4 separate regions of the Homo sapiens genome follow, and all the other regions are linked to region 2. Evidence: promoter capture Hi-C in 16 types of primary human blood cells and fetal thymus (Javierre and others, 2016). All regions are on one chromosome and are shown on one strand. The core of a region is centred on a gene start or on the middle of the fragment in contact, and the rest is flanking DNA. Distances in the headings are between cores, read along the strand shown. Region 1 has its middle 15 kb from the start of VAX1. Region 2 holds the start of ENO4 (enolase 4). Region 3 has its middle 3.7 kb from the start of VAX1. Region 4 overlaps PDZD8 (PDZ domain containing 8).

What was found. The method cuts DNA at HindIII sites, captures the fragments that hold promoters and counts their contacts. A CHiCAGO score of 5 or more calls a contact.
Region 1: a contact is called between a fragment that was not itself captured here and the fragment with the promoter of ENO4 in region 2, in 1 of 17 cell types (endothelial precursors). The highest score is 6.4, in endothelial precursors.
Region 3: a contact is called between a fragment that was not itself captured here and the fragment with the promoter of ENO4 in region 2, in 6 of 17 cell types (endothelial precursors, monocytes, M2 macrophages and 3 more). The highest score is 10.2, in endothelial precursors.
Region 4: a contact is called between a fragment that was not itself captured here and the fragment with the promoter of ENO4 in region 2, in 1 of 17 cell types (M2 macrophages). The highest score is 5.6, in M2 macrophages.

Annotation. Positions count from the first base shown.
Region 1 is chr10:117,119,866-117,126,135 of GRCh38, reverse strand. It overlaps a transcript of SHTN1 not described here. Among named protein-coding and RNA genes, the nearest start is that of VAX1, 15 kb to the left of the region's middle. The HindIII fragment of the contact is 2,358 bases long and covers 1,813-4,170 here.
Region 2 is chr10:116,848,249-116,855,381 of GRCh38, reverse strand. ENO4 (enolase 4) reads right to left here and starts at 5,883. Exons shown (of 14, transcript NM_001242699.2): 1 at 5,651-5,883. The coding sequence starts at 5,815. It also overlaps a transcript of HSPA12A not described here. RefSeq lists an enhancer at 7,067-7,133. The HindIII fragment of the contact is 7,314 bases long and covers 2,743-7,133 here.
Region 3 is chr10:117,138,815-117,145,213 of GRCh38, reverse strand. No RefSeq gene overlaps it. Among named protein-coding and RNA genes, the nearest start is that of VAX1, 3.7 kb to the right of the region's middle. RefSeq lists enhancers at 4,189-4,774, 4,775-5,361. The HindIII fragment of the contact is 2,468 bases long and covers 510-2,977 here.
Region 4 is chr10:117,336,843-117,343,543 of GRCh38, reverse strand. PDZD8 (PDZ domain containing 8) reads left to right here. Exons shown (of 5, transcript NM_173791.5): 2 at 2,442-2,564. Among named protein-coding and RNA genes, the nearest start is that of PDZD8, 35 kb to the left of the region's middle. The HindIII fragment of the contact is 788 bases long and covers 1,524-2,311 here.

The DNA of each region.
Region 1 (6,270 bases), core at 1,742-4,241, 270 kb before region 2:
GTCAAGCGGCGGCAGCGCCCCCTGAAAGGCCCCTGCCAGCACCTAGCGCTCCGCCCTCCAGACCCACGCCCTTGACCCCCGGCTTCTTGCACTGAGGGAAGCAGCGGCATGGGGGCTGAGGGGCTTGCTAAGGGTGCACAGGACGGACGGAGTGCCAGGTTTTTGTTTTGGTTTCCTTCCCTTGCGTCTCATGGGTTAGATAAGACTGCCATGTGTTAGATCGGTGGCCAGAAAGTCAGGTCATCAGCCCATTTTACTGAGGGTCTGGCTTAGTCCCTTCCCGGGAAGAGCTAAAGGCAAATTCAGTTTTCTGTCCTAGTTGTCAGCTGATGCGAGGGAAAGTAAGCACAGTGGAGTGGGAGCATTATTGGCAGGGATGGGCAGACAGCCTGTAGAATTCTGAGATGATCAAGAAGGTATTTGGGTTCTTAACCAGGGCATCCCAGGGAGAAACGGAGGGGAGAGAAAAAGAAAAGGAAATGATGTGAAGGAGGTGGGGGTCTCACATCGAGTAGAGGTGTAAGATAAGGCTTGCAAAGTGGCCTGGTCAAGGAAGGGCCTGAAGACCAAACTAAAGATCTCTATTCTGTAGGTGAAGGGGAGGTTTTGGGCAGGGTAACGATGGGAGGAAAGCCCAGTTACAAGATGAGATGGGTGCCGACAGGTGAGAAAGGTTAGTAAACAGATTGGTGTCGAGGTCTGGGATTAAGCTGCAGGTGGGGAGGATAGAAAGTAGGTAGGTGTCTCATCAGTGATGGGATGAGAAACAAGTTAGTTAACACATTAATGCCAACATTTGTTTCTAGACATCACCATTATTTTCGTTTTAAGATCCTCTTTCCCTGAGCTGCCTATGACCGTCTCTGTTCAGAGACCAGTGGGAGGGTGGCAAATAAGTTCAACTCTAGTGCTAAGTTGAATTATTTGATGGTAGCTGCCTGGGGATACTAAGTTGTGGAGGATTCTGAGGCCTCCGTGGAAAAGTATGCTGATCATTAGTGATGTCTGCCAGCATCGGAGGGGTTCTTGCAATTCTGAGACAAATATAAGTGGCTTTGAGGCCAGGTTGCTTCCCTAGGTTCTGAGTAAGGAGCTGGGTCCATGTTTGGCTCAGCAATTTTTCTTAGCCTGGGCAGGTCATGGCAGAGTAGGAAGCTGTTTCCAAGTAACTCGGGGCAAGGTTCCCGCAGCAGGTATCCCAGTCATCACCTTAACCCCCACAATATAGCAATAGTAGGAAAACTTGGGCTTTGAATTCCACCTTTGACTTTTATTGGCCATGTGAACTTAGGCAAATAACTTCTTTCAGTCAGAATCCTCATCTGTAAATAGAATTATTACTTTTATTTTATCTTATTTTTTGAGACGGAGTCTCACTGCATCGCCCAGGCTGGAGTGCAGTGGTGCGATCTCAGCTCACTGCAACCTCTGCCTCTGGGGTTCAAGCAATTCTCCCTGCTTCAGCCTCCTGAGTAGCTGGGATTACAGGTGCCCACCACCACGCTCGGCTAATTCTTGTATTTTTAGTAGAGATGGGGTTTCACCACGTTGGCCAGGCTGATCTTGAACTCCTGACCTCAGGTGATCGACTCACCTCGGCCTCCCAAAGTGGTGGGATTACAGAGTAATTCAATGAGAAAAGCAAAGTGCAGCCTGTTTTAAAGATGTAGAGCCTGAGACATGGAGAATCAATGTGTCAGTGAAGGGATTATAATTTGAACTTTATTTTTCTGAGTACTGGTATACCACTCTGAACATGATGCTTAACTCCTGAGTTTTGCTTCACTGTCAAATGTGCTCTACCCTCAAGCTTTTCCTCTGAATTCAGGGTCCACTTTTTTCATTGCCTGAGGCTCATTAACCCCCAGGTTAGAGTCAGGACCATCAGTGACACATCTGAAGTTTGGCTTTTTTTTTTTTTTTTGAGACATAATCTTGCTCTGTCACCCAGGCTGGAGTGCAGTGGTGCAGATCATGGCTCACTGCAGCTTCAACCTCCCAGGCTCAAGGGACCCTCCCACCTCAGCCTCCTGAGTAGCTGGGACTGCAGGCATGCACCACCATGCCCAGCTATTTTTTTATTTTTTGTAGAGACAGTGTCTCACTGTATTGCCCAGGCTGGTCTTGAACTTCTAGACTCAAGCAATCCTCCCACCTTGGCCTCCCAAAGTGTTCGGATTACAGGTATGAGTCACCGTGCCTGGCCAGCAATTTTTTTTTTTTTTTTTGTGAGACAGGGTCTTGTTCTGTCACCCAGGCTAGAGTGCAGCTGCAGCAATGTGATCTCGACTCACTGCCTCTCGGGTTCAAGCAGTTCTCGTGTCTCAGCCTCCCTAGTAGCTGGGATCACAGACATGCACCACTACGCCCAGCTGATTTTTTTTTGTATTTTTAGTAAAGATGGGGTTTCACCGTGTTGACCAAGCTGGTCTCGAACTCCTGGCCTCAAGCAATCCACCCACCTTGGCCTCCCAAGGTGTTGGGATTACAGGCGTGAGCCACCGTGCCTGGCCAGCAATCCTTTTAAGAGTACTCTGGCAGTACATTAGGAACAGTAATCAAGCATGCAAAATTAGGTAGAGATAATTTGGAATGTAGGTAGATGTTGGGTGACCCCCAAGGTCAGGGGTCACTTATGTCATTATTGGAAGTTAAGGGGTGTTAATTACTCACTACCTTTTCTTTCTGTCTCAAATCAACTGCAAACTAGGTGCCACATAGGGTTCCAAATTTAAGTGGCATCAAATGGCTCTCAAAGTTGTCTCAAAGTTGTCTCTTCTGGAATTGAATTTACCTGTCTAGTCACAGGTAGAGAACGGGAAAATGAAGAGTGGAAAGGGATAGAACCCCTGCCTTTTAAAGAACCCACGTATTGGGAGGCCGAGGCAGGCAGATCACCTGAGGTCAGGAGTTTGAGACCAGCCTGACCAACATGGAGAAACCCCATCTCTACTACAAATATAAAATGAGCTGGGCTTGGTGGTACATGCCTGTAATCCCAACTACTTGGGAGGCTGAGGCAGGATAATTGCTTGCACCCGGGAGGCAGAGGTTGCAGTGAGCCGAGATCACACCATTGCACTCCAGCCTGGGCAACAAGAGCGAAACTCCATCTCCAAAACAAAACAACCCATGTAGTGGTTCAGTGAATGGTAGTGCTCACCAATCAGATTATCTTCTTACTTTTCTCTTGAATTGTAAGAGTCAGAGGCAGAGTCACCTTTCTCAGAACTTCCCTAAGAGGGTAGAAGCATTGGCTAAACTGCCTTGTATAAAAATGTAATAAAGTACTTTAATTATTATTTTTCTTAAGTTTAATAGTATATGAAGAGGTTGAGAGTTCTCACTGTTCTCTTGAAGTTGTTTTTACTGTTGGAATTGCTGTTCCTAGATTGGTACATAGTAGACAATTTAACATTTGTTGGACTGATTGACTGGAATCACAAAGTTAGTTTATTAGGACAGCTTATTTGGGTCCCTAGGATTTCATAAGTCATGTCATGAAAATATATCCTTAAAAGTATTGTCCTAAGAGATGTGAGGTGATGCCTCATTGTGGTTTTGCTTTGCATTTCCCTGATGATTACTGATGTTGAGCACTTTTTCATATACCTGTTTCAACTAACTATGGATCGAAAATATTTTAAAAGACAATAGGGCCAGGTGCAGTGGCTCACACAAGTAATCCCAGCACTTTGGGAGGTGGGGGTGAGAGGATCGCTTGAGCCCAGAGTTTGAGACCAGCCTGGGCCACAAAATGAGACTCTGTCTCCACCAAAAATAAAAACGTTAGCTGGGTATGGTGGCATGTGCCCGTGGTTCCAGCTATACGGGAGGTTGAGTTGGGAGGATCACTTGAGCCCAATAGGTTGAGGCTGCATGAGCAGTAGCAGTGTTCATGCTACTGCACTCCAGCCTGGGTAACAGAGTGAGACCATGTCTCAAAACAAACAAACAATAAATAGCAATATGAAAATAAAAAATAAAGTAAATACAAATACAGTACAACAATTATTTACATAGCATTTACATTGTATTAGGTTATTATGGGTAATCTAGAGATGATTTATTTCTTTATTTATTTTTATTTTATTTTTATTTTTTGAGATGGGGTCTTGCTGTGTCGCCCAGGCTGGAGTGCAGTGGCGCGATCTCAGCTCATTGCAAGCTTCTCCCCCTGGGTTCACGCCATTCTCCTGCCTCAGCCTCCCAAGTAGCTGGGACTACAGGCGCCTGCCACCACGCCTGGCTAATTTTTTGTATTTTTAGTAGAGACGGGGTTGCACTGTGTTAGCCAGGATGGTCTCGATCTCCTGACCTCGTGATCTGCCAGCCTTGGCCTCCCAAAGTGCTGGGATTACAGGCGTGAGCCACCGCACCCAGCCAAGATGATTTAAAATATACAGGAGGGTGTGTGTAAGCTATATGCAAATACCATGCCATTTTACATTAAGGACTTGGACATCCTCTGATGGGGGTGTTCCTGGAAACCACCCCCATTCATACTGAGGTATGACTGTATATAAAACATGTATAAAATTTATAATTTTTTTTTTTGAGTCAGAGTCTCACTCTATCGGCCAGGCTGGAGTATAGTGGCATGATCTCAGCTCACTGCAACCTCCGTCTCTGGGGCTCAAGCAATTCTCCTGCCTCAGCCTCCCAAGTAGCTGGGATTACAGGCGTGTGCCACCATGCCCGGCTAGTTTTTTATATTTTTAGTAGAGGCAGAGTTTCACCATGTTGGCCAGGCTGGTCTTGAACTCCTGACCTCAGGTAATCCTCCCACCTCGGCCTCCCAAATTGCTGGGATTACAGGCGTAAGCCACCACGCCTGGCCCAAAATTTAGAATTGTATACGTAATCTATAGCTATAAAATGTACACAAAATATAGATTATAGGAGATTATACATGTAATCTCCTTTGATCTTCATAATATCTTTTTTAAACAATTTTTTTATCGATGCATAATAGATACATAGTTTTGGGGTACCTGTGATAATTTAATACATTTATATAATTTGTAAATGGGCATGGTCATTCATGCCTGTAATCTCAGCACTTTGGGAGGCTGAGGCAGGCAGATCACCTGAGGTCAGGAAGTTGAGACCAGCTTAGCCAACATGGGGAAACCCCGTCTCTCCTAAAAATACAAAAATTAGCTAGGCATGTTGGCACACTTCTGTAATCCCAGCTACTAGGGAGGCTGAGGCAGGAGAATCGCTTGAACCTGGGAGGTGGAGGTTTCAGTGAGCTGAGATCGTGCCACTGTACTTCAGCCTGGGCAACAGAGCAAGACTCTGTCTCAAAAAAAAAAAAAAAATCAAATCAGTGTACTTGGGATATCTATCACCTGAAATATTTGTCTTTTCTTCTAGCTATTTTGAAATATACCATAGATTACTGTAAATTATAGTCACCCTGCTCATCTATCTAACACTAGGTTCTGTTTCTTCTACCAAACCATAGATTTGTTGTTTTTACTTTTTTATTTTTAATTTTTGTGGGTACATAGTAGGTGTATATATTTATGGGATACATGAGATGTTTTGATATAGGCGTGCAATATGTAAAAATCACATCATGGGGCCAGGCGCTGTGGCTTACGCCTGTAATCCCAGCACTTTGGGAGGCCAAGGGAGGCGGATCACAAGGTCAGGAGTTTGAGACCGGCCTGGCCAATATGGTAAAACCCCGTCTCTACTAAAAATACAAAAAAATTAGCTGGGCGTGGTGGCGGGTGCCTGTAGTCCCAGCTACTCAGGAGGCTGAGGCAGGAGAATCGCTTGAACCCAGGAGGTGGAGGTTGCAGTGAGCCGAGATCACGCCCCTGCACTCCAGCCTGGGCAACAGAGCGAGACTCAGTCTCAAAAAAAAAAAAAAAAATCACATCATGGAAAAATGGGATATCCATCCCTCAAGCATTTAACCTTTGTGTTACAAATAATCTAATTATACTCTTTTCAGTTATTTTTAAATGTACAATTTATTATTTACTATAGTCACTCTGTTGTGCTATCAAATACTAGGTCTTATTCATTCTTCCTATTTTTTTTGTACCCATTAACCATCCTTACCTGCCCCACTGCTCCCGACTACCCTTCTCAGCCTCTAGTAACCATTCTTCTACTCTCTAGCTCCATGAGTTTAATTGTTTTGATTTTTAGATCTCACAAATAAGTGAGAACATGCTAAGTTTGTCTCTCTGCGCCTGGCTTATTTCACTTAACGTAATGACCTCCAGTTCCATCCATGTTGTTGCAAATGAC
Region 2 (7,133 bases), core at 4,634-7,133:
CAATTTGGTGTATGTTGAACTCTCAACAGAAACTTGCATACGTTTCTTAATTAAAAGGCCCTGTGTCACTGATTAGCAGGCCTTCTTCAACAGAGACGGTCTCACTCTGTTGCCAGGCTGGAGTGCAGTGGTGTGATCTCGGCTCACTGCATTCTCCGCCTCCCAGGTTCAAGCAGTTCTCCTGCCTCAGCCTCCCGAGTAGCAGGGACTACAGGCGTGCGCCATCATGCTCAGCTAATTTTTGTATTTTTAGTAGAGATGGGGTTTCACCATGTTGGCCAGGATAGTCTCAATCTCTTGACCTCGTGATTCACCCACCTTGGCCTCCCAAAGTGCTGGGATTACAGGCTAGCAGGCGTTCTTATAGTCAATTCAGTTGCCTAAGCTATCCCTCTTTTCTTTTTCTTTCTTTCTTTTTTTTTTTTTTTTTTTTTTTTTTTTGAGACAGGGTCTTGCTCTGTCAGCCAGGCTGGAGAGCAGTGGCACCATCACGGCTCACTGCAGCCTCAACTTCCCAGGCTCAAGTGATTCTCCCACCTCAGCCTCCCGAGTAGCTGGGACCATAGGCACACGCCACCACACCCGGCTAATTTTTACATTTTGTAGATACAGGATCTTATTATGTTGCTCAGGCTGGTCTCAAACTCCTGGCCTCAAGCAATCCTTCCGCCTCAGCCTTCCAAAGTGCTGGGATTACAGGTGTCAGCCACTGTGCCCAGCCCCCTTGTTTCAAGATACAGAAACCAACTGGTCTCTAGAACACCATGACGCATTCAAATTTCAGAAACCTGACATGGGCTGAATTTTTTTTTTTTTTTTTTTAAGACAGAGTCTCACTCTGTCACCCAGGCTGGAGTACAATGGCATGATCTCTGCTCACCGCAACCTCTGCCTCCTGGGTTCAAGCGATTCTCCTGCCTCAGCCTTCCGAGTAGCTGGGATTACAGGCGTGCACCAAAACGGCTGGCTAATTCTTTTGTATTTTTAGTAGAGATGGGGTTTCAACATGTTGGCCAGGCTAGTTTCAAACTCCTGACCTCGTGATCCGCCTGCCTCAGCCTCCCAAAGTGCTGGGATTACAGCCGTGAGCCACCGCGCCCGGCACATGGGCTCATTTTTATTCCTCCCAGCAAGGCACGTGATATTTTAGTGGTGAAGACTTACGTGACGGCTGTATCTTACCATCAGCTCATTCATAGTCCTATGTGTTCAAGGAGGCTTGTTGGGAGCCTTAGTAATTGCAGTTTCATTGAGGTGGAAAAGCAGAAGCCATTTGGAAGTGATCTAAGAAGGAGACTGAAGAAAGAGAAGCTGAGATAGAAAGCCCACTCGAGAAGCCTGCAAGAAAACGCTCAGGAAGGTGTTTCTGTGCAGAGGAGCAGGAGCTAGGAGAGACTAGAAGGAGGGAAGGTGAAGGCACACCTTTATTGCTCTCTTGATTACCAGATAGGACTGGGCTTTGCTTTCATTTAGCAGACACCAGGTCTCTGATCTTTCAGTTCAAAATCCAGTGACTTCAACCTGGACAACAGGTCATCTAATACCCACAGCGACATGCCAGTTCAGAGGTGGGGCCCCAGAAGTATTAAGCAAGAGCTCATTTTCAAGCTATCCGTGGATTCTTTAAATGGTGGTTTGTATGTTACAGAGTAAGTGCCTAAATGAATTTAGAATCAGGAGAGCAAAAATGTTATTTAGCTTACACTCTGTGTGTTATAGTGAGTTCAGTTTAACAAGCACCAAGCACCTATAATGTGCCGCGTGTTGTGTTAGGAGAGGAAAGGAACTAACATTTTTGAAGTGCTTAATATGGGCTGTGAAAGAATGACTTCTTTATCACTATATCTCAAACCACAGGGCCTGACATATATAGGATTCTATAAATTAAATCTCGTATAAATTAATAAATGTCAGTGACATCCCTGGGCACTGTATATACATTATGTCATTACATTCAACTCTCTAAGCTATGTGATATCATCTCCATCCCACAGATGGGCAGACAGTTCCACAAAAATTAACTGTCCAAGATCACTTAGCTAATGTTTTCATTATCTACTGCTTTGGTTTTTTTTTTTTTTTTTTTTGAGACGGAGTCTCACTCTGTCACCCAGGCTGGAGTGCAGTGGCACAATCTTGGCTCGCTGCAAGCTCCGCCTCCCGGGTTCACGCCATTCTCCTGCCTCAGCCTCACGAGTAGCTGGGACTACAGTCGCCCGACACCACTCCCAGCTAATTTTTTGTATTTTTAGTAGAGACAGGGTTTCACCGTGTTAGCCAGGATGGTCTCGATCTCCTGACCTTGTGATCCGCCCGCCTCAGCCTCCCAAAGTGCTGGGATTACAGGCGTGAGCCACCGCGCCCGGCCATTATCTACTGCTTTGTAACAGACCACCCCAAACCTTGGTGGTTTAAACCATTAACTTGCTCATGGTCCTGTAATCTGGGTGGGGCTTCAACTGGGAAATTCTTTTGCTGGGCTTCTCTGGAGTCCCTTATGCAGATGTAATCATCTGGAGGCTTGACAGGAGCCAGCATATCCAAGCTGTTTTCACTCAATGTCCAGTGCCGTAGCTGGGATGGCTGGCACAGTGAGGGGTTGGCTGGGCATCTATCTTTCTCACAGGATATCCTGAGGGGTCTCGTATCTGCCAAGGTCTTTCTCTACACAACCTCACTCTTTCCAGTAGGGTAATTGGGACATCCTCACAGCATGATGACTAGATTCCAAGAGGACAAGCTTCCATATGCCAGCACTGATCAACTCTCTGTTTGTATCGTGTTTGTCAAGGTCCTATTGATCAAAGTAAGTGACATAGCCAATTCCAGAGTCAGTGTGGGAGGGACTTACAAAAAGGTGTTCACACTGGAAGTGTAGTTTCTTGGAGGACCATCAGTGTAACTCTATCACAGTGAGGAAGTGGCAGAGATAAGAATCAAAACCAGATCTGCCACATTCCCAGTCCAAAACTCTCTCATTCAGTTTTATGATGATGGAATAAATTGTATTGTTATTGCCTACAAGGATCTTTACCATGTGTGAATTCCTCTAATATGTCTGTCTTAGTTTGTTCTCACACTGCTATCAAGGACTGCCTGAGACTGGGTAATTTATAAAGGAAAGAGGTTTAATTGACTCACAGTTCTGCACAGCTGCAGAGGCCTCAGGAAACTTACAATCATGGTGGAGGGAGAAGCAAACACATCCTTCTTCACATGAGGGCGGGAAGGAGAAGTGCAAAGTGAAGCGGGGAAGCCCCTTATAAAACCATCAGCTCTCATGAGAAGTCACTATCACGAGAACAGCATGAGAGTAACCACCCCCATAATTTAATTACCTCCCACCCGGTCCCTCCCCACATGTCATATGTGGGGATTATGAGCAGTACAATTCAAGATGAGGTTTGGGAGGGGATAGAGCCAAGCCATATCAATGTTGGAGAGGGACAGAAGAAATGACATTGGAGCTGAACACTGGAGGAGGTATAGTGTTTCAGTGCCAGTCAAGGGGGAGATGTGGTGAGCAGATATTTCAGGGAGAGAGAATGGGACAAGCAAAGAGGAGGGAGGTAGGAAACTTCTGGCTTTGGGGAACAGTCAGTGATTCGGTGTAGAGGAGGAGGGCAGGGAGTGGGAGATGCGCCTGTTACCAGAGGGAGGGGCTGAGCACTGTGAACCACACACATGAAGGCCAGCAAGCACGGGAAAGCCACAGGAGGTTCTGAGGAAGAGAAGTGTGGTCAGACTTGCATGTTAGGACACTGCTCTGGCAGCATTCTGCAGGATGAACTAGATAGAGGGAGAGACGAGGTGAGAGTAAGCACGGCCAAAACTAGGGCAGTTACTAAGAAAAGGAAAAGGAGATTGCTTTTTTCTGTTTTTCTTTTTGAGACGGAGTCTCGCTCTGTTGCCGAGGCTGGAGTGCAGTGGTGCAATCTCGGCTCACTGCAACCTCCGATTCCCAGGTTCAAGGAGTTTGCTTTTTTGCCTCTGCAATTCCTGAACATCCTTCGAAGTCCAAGCCAAAGCCTTCCTGGATATACAGCCTCCAAGGATCTTTTCCATCCCTGAATTCCTTTAATAGGCATATAGGGATCTGCCCCTCAATCTAGCACACAGTCATCTATCACCTTATCTTTTGCTCCAATTATTTTATGTATTAGTGACTTTTGTCCCAAACTAAGATGTAAGTTCCCAGAGAGCTGTACAAACGAATATCCTGGCTGCCTAATAGAATAAGAAGATCATTATACTGGGGAACAAGAGTCCATGTTTTTAGTCCTAGCTTGTACACTAAGTAGCTGTGAGACAAAGACTTGGTGTCCCTGTAAAATGAGGACGTTAGAATAGATTGTGTTCAAGAATTCCTCTAGCAACAGATAGTAGGAAGAGAATGGAATGAGAGTCAAGCATTCACTCATTCATCCTGCAGGTAGTTTCTCAGCATCCACTGTGTGCCATGCACTCTGCTGGGTACTAGGGACACAAATGTGGTTTGATTTTTTTTCTTCTGTCACTATGTCCTTTGGGAAAATCATTTAAATTGCACTGGCCACAGGTTCTTTATTTGTAAAATGGGAATCATCATTTTTACCTCGTCGCAGTGGTACTGAGGATTGAGTTACAGTACGCAGCACAAGGGGCTCAGTAAACCCCACACCTCTCCCCTTTGATAGTATAGGCCATGAGTGGGAAAAAGTCATTCGCGGAACATCCTTTATATCAACTGCCTCAATACGACGTGGTTTTGCACCCTGACAGCACATCTGCCTCTTCATAGGACTCCTTCTGCTTGGTGTTCACATTGCCTCCTTGCTTTGCCTTGCCATAGTGCAAACTCCTAGGGGCCCCAGCCACACTGCCTTCCTTACTACTTATAGATCTGGAAGGGAGAAAACGTCTTTGCTTCAGCTGCTCACTGCTTAACGCTAAGGTATGTGCCAGATCTCAGGGCTGGGCAGAGACCCGGAAGGTGAGAAGACAAGGCTTCTGAGCCCAGCAGGGGCTCACAGGCTGCCTAGGGAGGCTGCCTCAAGAGACTACAATACACGAAGGAAATGCTGTAGGAACCCAGAAGGACGGTTGGTCCAGGGCTACGTGGGCAAGGCTTTGGTCTGAATTTTGGAGTTTAGGGCGGGGCTGGTCAGATATTAACTGGCATCCCGGCAGAGGAGCCAGTAGGATGAGGCCCCAGAATAGGCTGAAGCCAAGTTGTAGCAAACGCCAAGGTGTTCATCCTGTGATCAAAGAGGAGCTGCTTAAGGTCGGTGAGCTGAGCTGAGGGCATTAAGGTATGTGTTAAAAATGACAATTGGCAAGCATGGGCGGTGGGCCGGCCCACAAACGGAGAGGCCTCTTAGGCAGCGAGGAAGCCTGCCAGCCCCTGGGCTGCCGCTGCAGGTCAAATACGCCTAGCGCCCTCTTTCCTCCAGCTGCCTCCTTTCTGCCACTTTCTCTGGGGAGATCCCTTCACCCCTGGGTGTCCTTCCCGCTCCTTCCCTCCAGAAGTCTCCTCCGCACACGCAGGCCCAGGGCCCGGGCGGCTGGCATGCGAGATTCTGAGGCGCAGGCGCAGGCGCAAGGCGTTGCCGCAGCGCGGGGCGGGGGGAGAGGGGTTGGCGGGAGGAGAGCGCTTGTCCCAGGTCCCTACCAGGTGCCCGTAGACGTCGGCAGGCTGGAGGTAGAAGGTGGAGTTGAGCAGCTCTTCCAGCCTGCGCGGAACGTCGTTCTCCCGGTAGTACTCCATCGCCTGCTGCTTCAGCTTCTGCAGCTCCCTAGTGGTCCCACAGCTGCGGCCGCCGCCTTCTTCCTCCATGGTAGGAGATTTAAGGCTACAGCGGGGTTTAGCCTGGGGTCCCACGAGCGTCCCTGCTGTCGCTAGGCAACGCAACGTGATCCCGACCCCCAGATCTCGCGTGGCTTCCAGGCCTAGGTTCTTCCTGCGGTAAAAGTCGTTCCCTTTTATTGGAGCTAGGATGGTATTTGCGCTCGCTGCTCTGTCTTTTCTCCCTGCGGCATTAGGTCCGGGGGTTGGGCTCCTCCTAGACTCCCGAGACTAGGGCCCTCCCGGCTTCGTTTTTCACCACTTTTCCCTGGCGATTTTCCAGAGGGGGAAATCTTTAACGACCTCATCAAGCGCGTTTTGCCGGAGCGCGGCAGCCTTAGCTCCGAATTCCGGCTGGGGTCGCGCGCTCGGGTCCCAGTGGCCCAGCGTCTTGGGCCACCCCGCCCTCCCCACGCGCCCCCTTGCTCTCTGCTGTTAGTGAGCTCCTCCGGGTTGCTAAGGCCGCCCGTGCCAGGCAGGCCCACTCTGTTGGGGGAGGGATGTAGGGGCTCAGGGCATCCTTACTGAGCGGTGGCGATCTCAGGAATTCTTTCATTCGGCTCATGTTTATTAACTACCTGCTCTGAGCCGAGCCGTGTGCTGGCTGGGCCTGCTATGATGTCCAGGAGAGAAACGGCCACTTGCCCTTCTCTGGGATATTAGTGGGGGTGAAATCAATGGAATGAAAAAAACCAGTGTGGGTTGAAAATATCTGGGGTGAACCCTAAGGGATGGTTGTGGTTTGGGCAGACCTAAGGATGGGGGATGATTCAGGCAGGACTTGGGGAGGTAAAACGGAAATGGGGGAATGGCCTTGGCTCACGTTCCCTCTCCAGAATGCTGCCTATGTCCTTGCCCTTTTCAATCCGAAGTGCCTTCCTGGCTTCATTGTACCTGCCAGGTATCATGCGATTACAGAACTTAGTGTGCGTCCTCAGTTCTAGATACTTCCTCTGCTGCAGGAGTGGGCGGCGACGGACAGGGTGTTCTTGTTCCACTCACGCCTGTTTATGTTTCCTACCTAAGCAGATCAGTTACAAGATCTGTGCCACACTTTCCCCCCTCTGGAAAACATCATCTTACCTCCTCTGCCTGTTTCCCGAGTCACTTAGTACAAAATGAGGAAGTGAGTGAGAAAGCACTTTGAAACACAGTTATTTTCAATACATGCACGTATGGGTGCAGATGCATAAAAATGTGATGCTATAAGTACTGTTACACAAACCCAGACATGCACCTTCCAAACTTCCTCCGTGTTCTCTCTGCTCTCTTACGGAACGTCTCACTGTCTGTGTGTAATGGACCATCA
Region 3 (6,399 bases), core at 494-2,993, 290 kb before region 2:
CACATGGTATTATCACGAACCCTCATAAGGCTGAATTCAGCTGGAAATGGAACATCAAAGATGATCTCATTCACATGAATGGAAGTTGGTGCTGTCAGCCGGGGTGCTTCAGTTTTTATGTAGCCTCTTTTCCTCTCACAGTCTAGACTGCCTTCCTTACAGCATAGCAGCTCGGTTCTATGAGAGAGCAAGAACAAAAACTACCAGACCTCTTTAAAGCCTAGCCCCAGACAGAACAAGCACAACTTCCACTTCATTTTATTGATTATAGCATGTCACAAAGCTCCACCTAATTCAGCAAAAGGGAATAGACTCTACCTCTTGATGGGAAGTATGGCAAAAGATTTACAGCTATTTTTAATTCAACACAATGGGTATACATAATTCTTCTTTTCTCAAAGTGCTGTTATGAGAAGTAAATGAGATAATGCTAGTCAGTAAGTCCTTAATAAGCACAAGCTGTTCATTACTGTTTTACAGTATTGAATAAGTATGAAGCCAATCAAGCTTTGCCATGGAGTACCTGGACCAATCAGTTACCTTGGTTGACTCTTAGTTCCTTCTTGGTATCTCTGGTTCTATTTAACACAATGCACCCGGGTTCTATGGCTCCATAAGAGATGCTCAAATAAAGACTCTAATAGCAAATATTTATTGACAGTGTTCACTGTGTGTCGAGCACTGTTTTAAGCACTTTTGTTACATAACAACCCTACAGTATCAAAGCTAACCTTATTCTGCAGATAGACTAATGAGGCACAGGGAAGGAAACTGACCTGCTAAAGCCACATGCCTAACAGGTAAGGGACCTGGGGTATGGATCTATAAATCAGGAATCCTGACTAACTCCAAAACCCATGTTTGTATGATTTGTTGAATAAGTGAGCCTATAGAATTAATGGGGTTCCTTTTAACTCTAAAATTGTATGATGTTTCCAAGTACAAAATGTATATGTAATCGATGAAATAGTTTCTTGGTACAAAATGCTAAGTTGAGAAATGGAGGCCAATGGGATTTTTTGCTTGACTTGTAGACAGAATAATTCAGAATTTAGCTGTCTACACATTGGCTAATACTCTAGCTATAATTGGTAAGAAATATCTGGATATATGGCTGCATTTTCCACTTTGGATAGTCAACATTGGTTCTTATTTCAAGTGCTTCCCCAATATCCCGACTATTTTCTGTGAAATGGGAATAGTGATAATTCAATGAGATTGAATTCATCACCACTGGCAACTTTGATTAGAGATGAAAGTCTCTGTATAAATGCTAAGTGTTCTTCCCTTTAATTAATTATTGTTATCAGGTACCCTGATTCATTGTTACAGAAACTTAATTTCTGATTGTATCATCTCTTCTGATGCAGTCCTTCTTAAAATGGTGTCTCAGACATTAAGTTATGCTGTCCCTAAACCGCTCATAATCTAGGATAATCTCAGATTTTTTTTCTGCCTGCAAGTTGTCCCCTCCTACTTCTTTCTGAAATAAAAAGTGAAGATGGAAAAGGAAAGCACTCTGTGCCACCTCGGATCCTGCTTTCTGTGACTGGAAGCAAGTAGGCGGGGGCAGGGAATATGAAAAGCATCCCCAAAGCTCAGATTGTGATTTAGCTCATTTTGATGGCATCATTTCACCCAACCCCAGACAGTGCATCTTGTTCGGGTTTCAAGAAGCCTGGGTGGAGGTGGGAATGTAGCTTTGAGTCAGGAGACCAGGAATGTAGCACAGAGGCCCCCACTAACTAGTTGTCTAATCCTTAACAAGTTGCTTTGTCTTTCTGGGCTCATTTTTCTCATCTGTCAAGTCAAATGAAGGTTATGGAATAGATGATCTCTAAAAATCCTTCCAGTGCTACAGTTCTATTCTGGGTCTGTCTGCACCTGCAGACAGTGATGTGGGGGCAGGAAGGGCACTGGGGAGGGCGGCAAATTTAGTCAAGAGAATAAAACACTTTCACCTGGTGCAGCCTTGTGTCCTTGTGTGTGTTGTGCAGTACAGGCTTGTCTCAGATTATCCAAATAATTGACTGAGTTCTCTTCTTTCTTTGCCAGTGAGCACACAGCTTTAGTTTTTTTCTGGGACTAGCAGCTGCTTTTCTGAAATTTCCATCCCAGGGCTTCCGTCCTCCACTGTGTCCTCTCAGAAACCTGTCATGGTTTTTCTGGATGGATGCCCACAGAATTTTAATCCAGACACACACACACACGCACACACACAGAAAGAAAGAAAGAAAGAAAAAAGAAATGAAAAAGAAAGGAAGGAAGGAAGAAAGGGAGTAGAAAAAAAGAAAAAAGTACCATGTATAACAAAAAGCAAAACCAAGTTAAGAGTTGACTTTCTTTTTTAATTTGGTTATTTCATTTGTGCTGCCAACCTGAAGCCATGACTAACCTAAAGCCAGTGAGTTCTCTTAATTACTGGGTTTGTCTATGATGATGCAGAGATGAGGCCCTGTATGCCTTAGGGGCTACCTGGGTCCTGGCACCTCCAAACTCTTGGTAAATGTCTGCTTAATTAAATTCGTTGTTTTCCCAGAATATCCCATTTTCTCCTCCCCCTCCCCCTCCCCCTCTCCTCGTCCTCCTCCTCCTCCTTCTTCTTCTTTTTCTTCTGATGGAGTCTTGCTCTGTCACTCAGGCTGGAGTGCAGTGGTATGATCTCAGCTCACAGCAACCTCCACCTTCAAGGTTCAAGCGATTCTCCTGCCTCAGGCTCCCGAGTAGCTGGGATTACAGGTGCGTGCCACCATGCTTGGCTAATCTTTACATTTTTAGTAGAGACGGGGGTTTTGCCATGTTGACCAGCCTGGTCTCGAACTCCTAACGATCGGCCCACGTCAGCCTCCCAAAGTGCTGGGATTATAGGCATGAGCCACTGTGCCCAGCCAGAATATCCCATTTTATGCCTTTCCTCAATAAGCATTTTCATGTCCAGTAAGGAGGGAGGGATGGAAGTCCCTGCCCGCAGGAAGCTTAGCAGAGTCACCGAAGTTTAAAAGGTGAAGTTATCTAACTCAATTTGTGAAAGATCCTTTGGTGAGCCAGCTAGAAATGCAAATTCCTGGACACTGCTCTCAGATGATCATTCTGTAAGTTTGAAACCCAGGAAATGATTTTTTACTCACCCCCAATCAGCTAGTAGATGAGTGATAAACTCCTAATAAATGCTCATGGCCAGAAATAAATAGCATCATCAGAAACAAGAATTTCATGATTCCATTTCTACTTACTGTTGTTTAGATAAAATTTGTGAAAATTGATGTCTAATAATAAGGATTCCTCGCATTAACATTAAAGTCATTGCTCTGTGTCTTTTTGATACACACATGATCACCTGAAGATTTGGAAAATTCAAAGCAAGTATGGGTTTGGAACTAAAAATGGGGCAGTCTTGTGGGGTGTGGCAAAGAAGAGCATAAATAGCTTTGAAGTCAGGCAGAAGTCAATTCAAATTCTGCTCATACCAGTCTGTGTGACTTGGGCAAGTTACTGAACGTCTCTCTGAGTCTCCATTCTTTCACCTATAAAACCGGAATATTACTACATCTCTGAAGGAGGAGTTCAGATTAAGTGAGTTTATGCATCCAGTAAGTGACTGCTTCATAAATAATTCCCCTGGACACGTTGGCTCACGTCTGTACTCCCAGCTACTCAGGAGGTTGAGGTGGGAGGATCGCTTGAGCCTGGGAATTCGAGGCTACAGTGAGCCGTGATGGTGCTACTGCACTCCAGCCTGGGCGACAGAGCGAGAACCTGTCTCAAAAATAAGTAAGTTTAAAAAACAAACAAACAGGCTGGGCTTTGTGGCTCATGTCTGTAATCCCAGCACTTTGGGAGGCCAAGGCGGGCGGATCACGAGGTCAAGAGATCGAGACCATCCTGGCCAACATGGTGAAACCCTGTCTCCAATAAAAACACAAAAATTAGCTGGGCGTGGTGGCGCGCGCCTGTAGTCCCAGCTACTCAGGTGGCTGAGGCAGGAGAATCTCTTGAACTCGGGAGGCGAAGGTTGTAGTGAGCGTAGATCGCGCCATTGCACTCCAGCCTGGCGACAGAGTGAGACTCCGTCTCAGACAAACAACAAACAAACAAACAAATAGTTCCCCCTTACAACAAAATATGCCACAAGATGAGGGAGGGCAGAAATTTCCGAGGCCAAACTTAAAATTTGCATTTGGGATTTGGCCATACTTTGGCCGTTCTCTGTGGCAGTGAATGCGGCTGCAGACGTCCCAGCGCCGCCATTGCCCACAGGGCGTGTCATTTCTAAGGGCAGCTGTTTGTTCCCTGACTGCCCCCGCCCCGCCCCCCAGCTCCCCCATCTACCTAAAAGAAAATGTAATGGGTTGGGCCATTTTTATTTTTTAAAAAGCTTTCTTCCAGGTCTTTGACCGGGCGCCGCAGGTGTCCGCATGGGTTTCCCAGGCCGCTGCGGCCTTCACCGACAGAAGGAGGCCGTACAGAGGGGTGCGGCCGGGCCGGGGACCCAGAGCCATCTGGGTCCCATTTGGGCCAAGGCTGCGGTTTGGGACTTCCGCCGCCTGCAGGGCTCCTAAAGGGCTGAGGAAGGCCTAGAATCCTCCTGCGCACCCGATCTCGCGTAGTCCGAGGGTCCGACCCCTCCAACCCCTCCAGGGTAGGGGGCAAGGAAGGGCCGGTGTGCCAGGGAATTCGGTCGCACCCCTCCCTGCCCAAGGAGGCCCAGGAGCTCCCTCGGGCCGAGCTCTGCAGGGAAGTGAATGCCCCATCTGCTGCAGGGACCCCCATCAGGAGGACCCGAATCCCAGGGACCCGCACCCGCGACGCGGTAGTGGGAGTCAAGACCCGGCGGCTGCACCCCCGACGGCTTGGCCGCATGGGAGCAAAGCCCTCGGTGCCTCAAGGCGCCAGTCTGGGCTTTTGAGCGTTGCGGGAGGTAACAGGAGAGTTCGCCGGATTTTAACACAATCCCACTCTACATCTTCAGAACAGGGTGGCCGCAAAGTCCCTTACCCCTCTTACCCGTCTCTGCTCCCACCCGCCTCACCAACCCGCCGGAGCAGAGCTCGTAATCAAAGGCACTTTCCCCGGGCGCCCAGTCGGCGTCGGACTTCGAGGGCAGCGTGCGCAGCGAAGCCGGGCTGAGGGGCGATCAGCCCGCTGGGGACCCTGGAAACCCGCCGCCCTGCGGAGAGTAGCTCGGGACAGTTCCACCGCTCCGCCCAGTCAACTAAAGTGGAAGCCTGATGTCGGCCTGCAGGGCCAGAGATGCCCTCCGGAGCTGGGCCAAACCTGGGTGCCCCTAAGTGGCTGGAGGGGTGGCTGGGTGGACAGCGCGAAAGACCCCGCTCAGGGGGCCCCCTCCTGGCTTGGGACGGTAGAGGGGTCCCGCGGGGTGGCGGCGGAGGCAGGGGAGGTGGCGGCGGGGCGGGAGGTGCGGACGGTGCGCGCGTCGCTGCGAGCTGGAGCCCCTAGGGGCCCGCCACACACACTCGCACCCCTCCCCCTCCCGGCCTTCCTCCCACCCGCTCGCCGCGACCCCCTCCCCAACCCCCTCCCCTCCCCCCGCCTCCGCCCCATTCTTGGAATTGTGTGGAAAAATTCTCAGCCAAACCTCCCACCTCTCCTCTCCCCCCACCCACCCCCTTTAAAAAACCCCTTTCCTCCCCGGCCCCTGCACTCTTTGTGAATGAGGGCAGGGAACACGGCCCTTCCCCCGCCCAGGAGCCACGCCAGACCGCCGCACTCAGAGGACTGTTTGTTAATAGTCCAATTAGATAATTGCCATCTTTCACTCCTTTTGCTCCGCATTTCCCATAAAGGAATGAATGGGGAGAGCGGCGTGGAGAGGGCTTCTGCCCCGGCAAGGTGACGAGAAGGGCTGGAGCATGCTCCTTGCACAAGGCCATGCGCTTGAATTGAATCATTGTAGCCTAATCAATGCTCTTATTGGATTACTGGCTGTTGCTTTTCTCAAAGATATTGTAGCAGAGACAATGAAATAGCTAGGGGAAAACTTTTTTTTTTTTTTTTTGAAGCAGATCTCACAGTTGAGATTTCTCGGCCGTCTCTCCCTCTCCCCCTCTCTCTCCTGCTGGACTCTGAGTACAAAGCTGCCCTTTGAATGGGCTGCCTCAGGGCTGCTGGAGGTGCAGGCATGAAAAAATCCAACTGGAACTAAATGAAGAGAGGTGGCAGTTTAAGATGGCTGTCTGCGTCGAGGTGTGTTAAGAAGGAGTTGTTTAGGGGAAAATCTTGGCTTTTTTAGAGTGCAAGGGAGATACTTTTTGGGAAAACTTTCTCCCCCCGCTCTGTCCCCCATCCCCCACTCCCAGACAACTGCTTTCTTCTGCCGCAGGGTGCGCAGGGTTTTTTTTTTCTCCCCCCACACCCCCCCGCCGCCCAACCCTCATTCAG
Region 4 (6,701 bases), core at 668-3,167, 490 kb before region 2:
TTTTTTACAAACTAACAGTTATATGTTTTTCAGGAGTCATAAGGACTGTGTGTTAAAAGCACCCAGCTACAACATTATATTGATATAAATTTAGTTACTAGTTTTTTTCCCTCTAAAAATTTGGTGCCAGTCTGTCTGAATCAAATGACTTCAAATGCAAATTAGCGTTTTAGTTGGGAGAAACTCGGGGGGCTTTCTGCTTTCCATACTAGTTTAGAAACAGGAGAAAACCACTGAGCATCGCCTGTGTCCCTACTTAACATTTCCTTAAAATTTTTTTCTTTAATCTTACTTACTGGGAAAACATAAAACAGCATTTAACCCCCTCTATTAGTGTCTTTCAGTATAAACTATAGTAGGCCATTGATATTTTCTAAGTGTTTATTTCAGTTTTAGTGTTAACTCTTTGTAAATCAGCGCAACACATACTCAAATCCTGATAGTGTGTGAAACATCCCGTCAGGTATGGATGATGGATGCAGAGAATTGTGAGACTAAGTCATATTTGACATTTTAAGGCATAAATGCACGCAATTTAGAGGACTGCAAGATAGAGAAGAGTGAAAGCAGCATGTATGGCCGAGTGCGAAAGAGGGGAGGATTTGGACAGGCTTTGAGGAATCTGGGAAAACTTCCAGTTGGTATGAAAGGCCTGAAGGCAGGAATATTCATAGTGTCTTCTGGGCATATGAGGTGACTTTCTAGATTGGAATGTTTATATTAAGAGAATATATGATTAGAAAGATTAATTGTGGGCTGGGTGTGGTGGCTCAGGCCTGTAATCCCAGCACTTTGGGAGGCCATGTGGGAGGCCGAGGCAGGCAGATCACTTGAGGTCAGGAGTTCAAGACTGATCTGGCCAGCGTGGCAAAACCCCATCTCTGCTAAAAATACAAAAATCATCCAGGTATAGTGGTGCATGCCTGTAATCCCAGCCACTTGGGAGGCTGAGGCAAGAGAATAGCTTGAATCAAGGAGGCAGAGGTTGCAGTGAGCCAAGATCGTGCCACTGCACTCCAGCTTGGGCAACAGAGCAAGACTGTGTCTCAAGAAAAAATAAAAAAGGAACATTAATTGTGGTGGACCTTAAATGTGAAACCAAGAACTTTTGACTATGTGTGTGTGTGTGTGTGTGTGTGTGTGTGTGTGTATCTGTTTGTGTGGTCAGTAAGAAGCCACTAAAACTTTCTGAGCAAGTAGATATCATGGCTAGTGACAATGTGTAGGGTGAATTGAAAACCACGGGGCTTTAAGCCCAATTTTCTTTCATTTTCTTTTTCTTTAGCTTTAATGGAGGAGTATGAGTTGTGTTTTAAATTAAAAGTTTTTTAAAACCTACAGTTTATAACTCAGCACAAACTTCTCCATAAAAACAACAATATTAGTGATGAGCATATGAATGCCTGGATAATTCATAGGTAACTGAGGTGTTATATAGTTGGACTTTGGAATTAGACTAGCTTGAATTCTGGTTTTGCCATTCACTTTGTAAAATTGAACAAACTTGTTAACCTTCCTAAGCTTCATTCTTTTCATCTGGAGAGAGGAGCCAATAATATTGCCCTCTTCAGGGTTGTGAGCATTAAATAAGATAATGCATGTAAAAAGCACTTAGCATACTGCCTGGCAAATAGTAAACATCTCTAATGAATATCTCTGCTGTGTTAATTGTTATTGATGTTGCTATTACAGTCATCTTTATCATGTACTAATCACTGTCTGTAATAGTCAGCTCTCTGTATTCGTGGGCTCCACATCCATGGGTTCCACATCCATGGATTCAAACAACTGTGGATTGAAAATATTTTTTAAAAATTTAATCTGCGCTGAACATGTACAGACTTTTTTCCTTGTCATTATTCTCTGAACAATATAGTCTTAACAACTATTTACATAGCATTTACATTGTATTAGGTATTATAAGTAATCTGGAGATGATTCAAAACATATGGGAGAATGTGTATAATGCAGATACTGGGCCATTTTATATTAGAGACTTGAGCATCCTGGGATTTTGGTATCCTTGGGAAGTACTGGAACCAATCCCCCATGGATGCCAAGGGGACTGTATATTATTTCCATGGAACATGCATTCTGAATTTTGATCTTGTACCGTAGGAACACTCTTCCCATCTGGTTCACAGTCTCTCTCCTGCCCCACCTAAACTTCATGGCCTACTTGCTGCCTCTAGGCTTTTCTTTTCTTTGTTCTCTCTTGCCTTATCAATGGGGGCATACCAAAAAACCAAGACTTATGGGTGCCATAGCGAAGGCACCATTTGCTGCCAGTTATGGGGGAGTGTGGTAAGCTTTGGTTTTGTAGAGCACGTGTAGTATTAGGTGTTCATTTTGCTTTGTGTTTTTGTACAGGTGAGTTTTGTTATGCTTTAAACTGTGGTGTTTATTATTCAGACATTTAGACTTATCTTTACTTTTGTCAGGTTTAAGCCGTTTTTTCCATACCAGACCTTGCAAGGATTTGAAGAAGATGAAGAGCATATCCATATACAACAATGGGCACTTACTGAAGGCCGTCTTAAAGTTACGTTGTTAGAATGTAGCAGGTATGTTCTTTGTTTTGTCATTACTAAGTTACGGGAAGAACAGTGCAGTGAAAATATTCCTAAGCAGTATTTGTGTTGTGTGTTCATTTAAATTATATTATTTACCTGTAAATTCTTTAATTGTAAATTTAATATCATAAAAGTAGTCCTTTCTAACTTTAACAAATATAAATCATATTTTAGAAAGTGTTTTAATGGAGGGAGAGGCATTTACTCTGTAGTCATTCTGACACTATTTAGATGCATAGTGCTCTGTTGGCTTATTTTTAACTTATTCTACCTACTGGGGAGCTGTTCCTATGTTAAAGAGAAAATTACTCAATGATACTTATTAAAGCAGAGTAAGGAAGTCTTTATTCAGGACCATCATGATAAGTATAGCAGCCACTGCAGTGAGGTCTTGAAGTGGGTGAGAGATTGGGCTCAACTCTGAATACAGCATGGGCAGGTGGAAATTTATAGCCAAGAAGCAATGTGGGATCAGTGGATGGAAACTTACTAAGAGGAAACATCAAGGGTAAAGGGGATTTTGGCTAAACCGACCTAACAGGATTCTTGCTAAAAACAGTCCAGGGTGATCAGACATCATGGAGGATGGTAAAGGACGATCAGATATCAAGGATAGGGGTTTCTTGCTAAACTGACTTCGCAGAGTTCTTTGCTGAAACTGGACAGATGGGCCTAGCAGAAGATTCAGAAACCTCAGTAAAGTTTGGCCTGGCAAAGAATCTTTGTCACCTATCAAAACGGTTTTGAGAATTGTTTGTGATAATTGGAAACACTCAGGAAAGTTGCAAAACTAGACTTTGAACCACTGTGGATTTTTAGCGTTTTAGAACTGGAAGCGATCTCAGAAATAATCTTGCCTAGCCTCCTTGTTTTACTTTGCCAGCACCAAAGTTTAAGCTATATTCATATCTTGCTTGAGCTACTTACTATACTAGCCTTCATATCTCCTAGTCCTCTGGTCCCCAATATAACAACCAACATGATCTTTTCAAAATGCAAATCTAATTGTCAGTCTCCTAGTTAAAACTCTTTAACAGCTTCCCCATTACTCTTAGGATGTGGACCCAAATCCTCACCATGACACACAGGTTCCTCTTAGCTCTCCAGCTTCAGTCTCACCATCCTCCGCCCAGCCCCTCATTCATAGTGCTTCAGCTACATAGGCCTTCCCAAGGCAAGGTGTTGGCAGACTGTTTCTCTAAGGGGCCAGATAGTACATTTTAGGCTGTGATTCACATGCTCTCTGTTGCAACTATACAACTCTGCCTTGCAGTACAGAAGCAGTCACAGATAATGTGTAACTGAATGAATGTGGCTGTGTGCCAGTAAAACTTTGTATATGAATTTTGTAATTTTCATATGTTATAAAATATTCTTTTGATACTTTTCAACCATTTAAAAACATAGAAACCCTTGATAGCCCACAGGTTATACAAAACAGGCAGTGGACTGAATTTAGACCATAAGCTGTAGTTTGCCATTCCCTACTTAAATATTTTAAAGCACCAAGCCCATTGTGTTGACTAGCTGCTGCTTTCTTGGCCCCCTTCTCTGCTCCATGAAGCCAACCTTTCTTGGTTTGGTTCAAAAGCTACCTTCTTAATGTATCTCCTGATCATTCCAAGTACAAGTATACTATCCTCCGGCTACATTTCTTTGACACTTGTTTGTACCACTTACTTGGTACATATGACTTTTATTTCCAACCCATAATACAATTAAGTACTTGAGCACACAGGTTATATTTTATATCTAATACATTTGTGTCCTTGCTAATGGTTAGGTTAGTTTTGAGTATACTAATAATATACTTAATCCTTTTTTTTTTTTTTTTTTTTTTTTGGTTAAGTCCAGGGTGACTCAGGATTGTGTATCATTATGTTAGAAAGCCTGGTAGACAAAGAATCCCTTTTTTTTTAAATCAAAAAAAGACTAAATATGTTGTCTATTTTGTAAAAGGAACTGCAGTGTACAGTAAAATACATATAATAGGTACTATGCTAGGTATTTAGAAAATACTAGTTCATTTGCTTTAATGTTGCTGGTGGGGTTAGGTATTGATTATATGTCTGTTAGCTTGTAGCTATTTAACCACTAGCTTTGGTGTCAGCTTTGCTCACCACATTTTTGCTTTACCTGCAGTACTGCTCACTTAAAGCCTTGCTACAGGAATCAAAGACTGCATGTAAGGCATTGAGAAAGTATAGCCAGACATTCTTTAGGTCATGTTGAGATAAATGAAAAGAAAAGCATTAGAATGTGTGAAGTACCTGTAACCAACTTTATTTTAATAAGGAACTGTGTAATAAATCTCTGAAAGGATAAGTGAGAAACCAATAAGAATTTTTACGGGGTATACAGGGAAGGAACTGGGTTGATGATGATGGACAGGGGTCAAGGTGATAGCCCAGCTATTCACTATAAACTTGTTTATGTTGTTTTATTTATCACCTGGTCAAAAATTAAGGTCCAGTATTTTTAGAGAGTACATAATTAGGCTGAAGGGAAAAACATGGAAAAATAGTTTTTTTAATATCTGAAGTTATGTAACTGTCGGCTTAGGTTATATAGCCAGCACCTTTCCCCAAGTGATAGATTCATCTTGGGAACAAGTACACTATCTAGAGATTTCCTTGTGCCATTTTTACAAATCCAAGCATGTAAAAGTTACTCAGTGTTGTGGTACTGTGTTATTGTTTACATAGTTTAAGAATTATTTGTGTATGAAGGCAAGAGTAAGTCTCAACTCATTCCTGCTTTTTTGTCTTCGTATTAAGTCCTAACATTCTTTCCGTTAAAAACTTAACGTTACTGTTTTTCTTGTAAACTTTTTTCTTAGTATAAAAACAGAAAACTCTGTTCAGGTAGATTTTAAGTTTATAGGATTCAAACTAAAGAGGACATATTACTGTAACCTAAGCATTTTTATTTCAATAGTTAATCTCATTTTGAATATAAATTCAGCTTGTGTGTTTTATTCTAATTCCTGAAGCAAAAAGAGGCACTAGAGAAAATGAAAGCACAAATAACAGTGCTTTCTTTTTGGAAGAAGGACCAAAAAAATGCTTATTACTTCATATATAGTGGAATAACATAGACTTTTGAGTTATAGAAAGCACTGAATTCAATCTAGCCATATGCCCTTATATAGTGTCACTAGGCAAGTTACACATCTGTGAAATGGGCAAGGGAGCTACTTTGCTGGTAATTGTAATCAGAGATAGGCAACTACCCACAATGCCTACCACATAGGATACCTACAGTAGATGTAGCTTCTATTATTATGTCTCAAGATAATCGTTGCAGTATCTGTGAAGAAAAAACGGCATGTTTTTTCTTGCATATTTGTTTGTGAGAATTGGAATTTGAATTTTATTAATTTAAAAAGGTCTCATATTGTAAAGGGAGGTTCTTTCCTAACTATCTGAAATACTGTTTCGCATTTCCCAAGCAATAGCTTGAGGGTGGAAAGGCAGTATTATGTGTAAAAATTGGTTTTCACATTTTGCTTTTGTCAAGTATTTTTTAAAAAGCAGTCATTCTGAACAATTGCATGTTTTTTTGAGTTGATGAAAGCTGATTTTTTTTAACCACAGATGAATGCAATGGCTGTTTGTCGTACTGCTAGTAGGTGAAATTATTTCACATTAGTGTTGCAATCAGATTGTTAAGATGATTATTTTTAAATTTATAATTTATAGTCTATCTTCTGTCTTGAAGGATAGAAGATATTTGAGATATTTTGCAAAGAAAACATGTAAGCATGTATACTTAAGCAGAAGATATATTAGATCAAAAACATGGAAAAGAGATCAATTTTCTGGCAGCTAAGACAACAAAGGAAACTTTACGGATTAGTTAGATCTTACTTTTTTTTTTTTTGAGATGGAGTCTCACTCTGTGGCCCAGGCTGGAGTGCAGTGGCATGATCTCGGCTCACTGCAAGCTCCACCTCCTGGGTTCACGCCATTCTTTTGCCTCAGCCTCCCAAGTAGCTGGGACTACAGGCGCCCACCACCATGCCCAGCTAGGGTGTTTGGTCTCACTGGATTTCAATATTACATCTTTTTTTTTTTTAAGTTTTAAATGTTAAATATAACACAAATACAGAAAACCACAGCAGTTGAC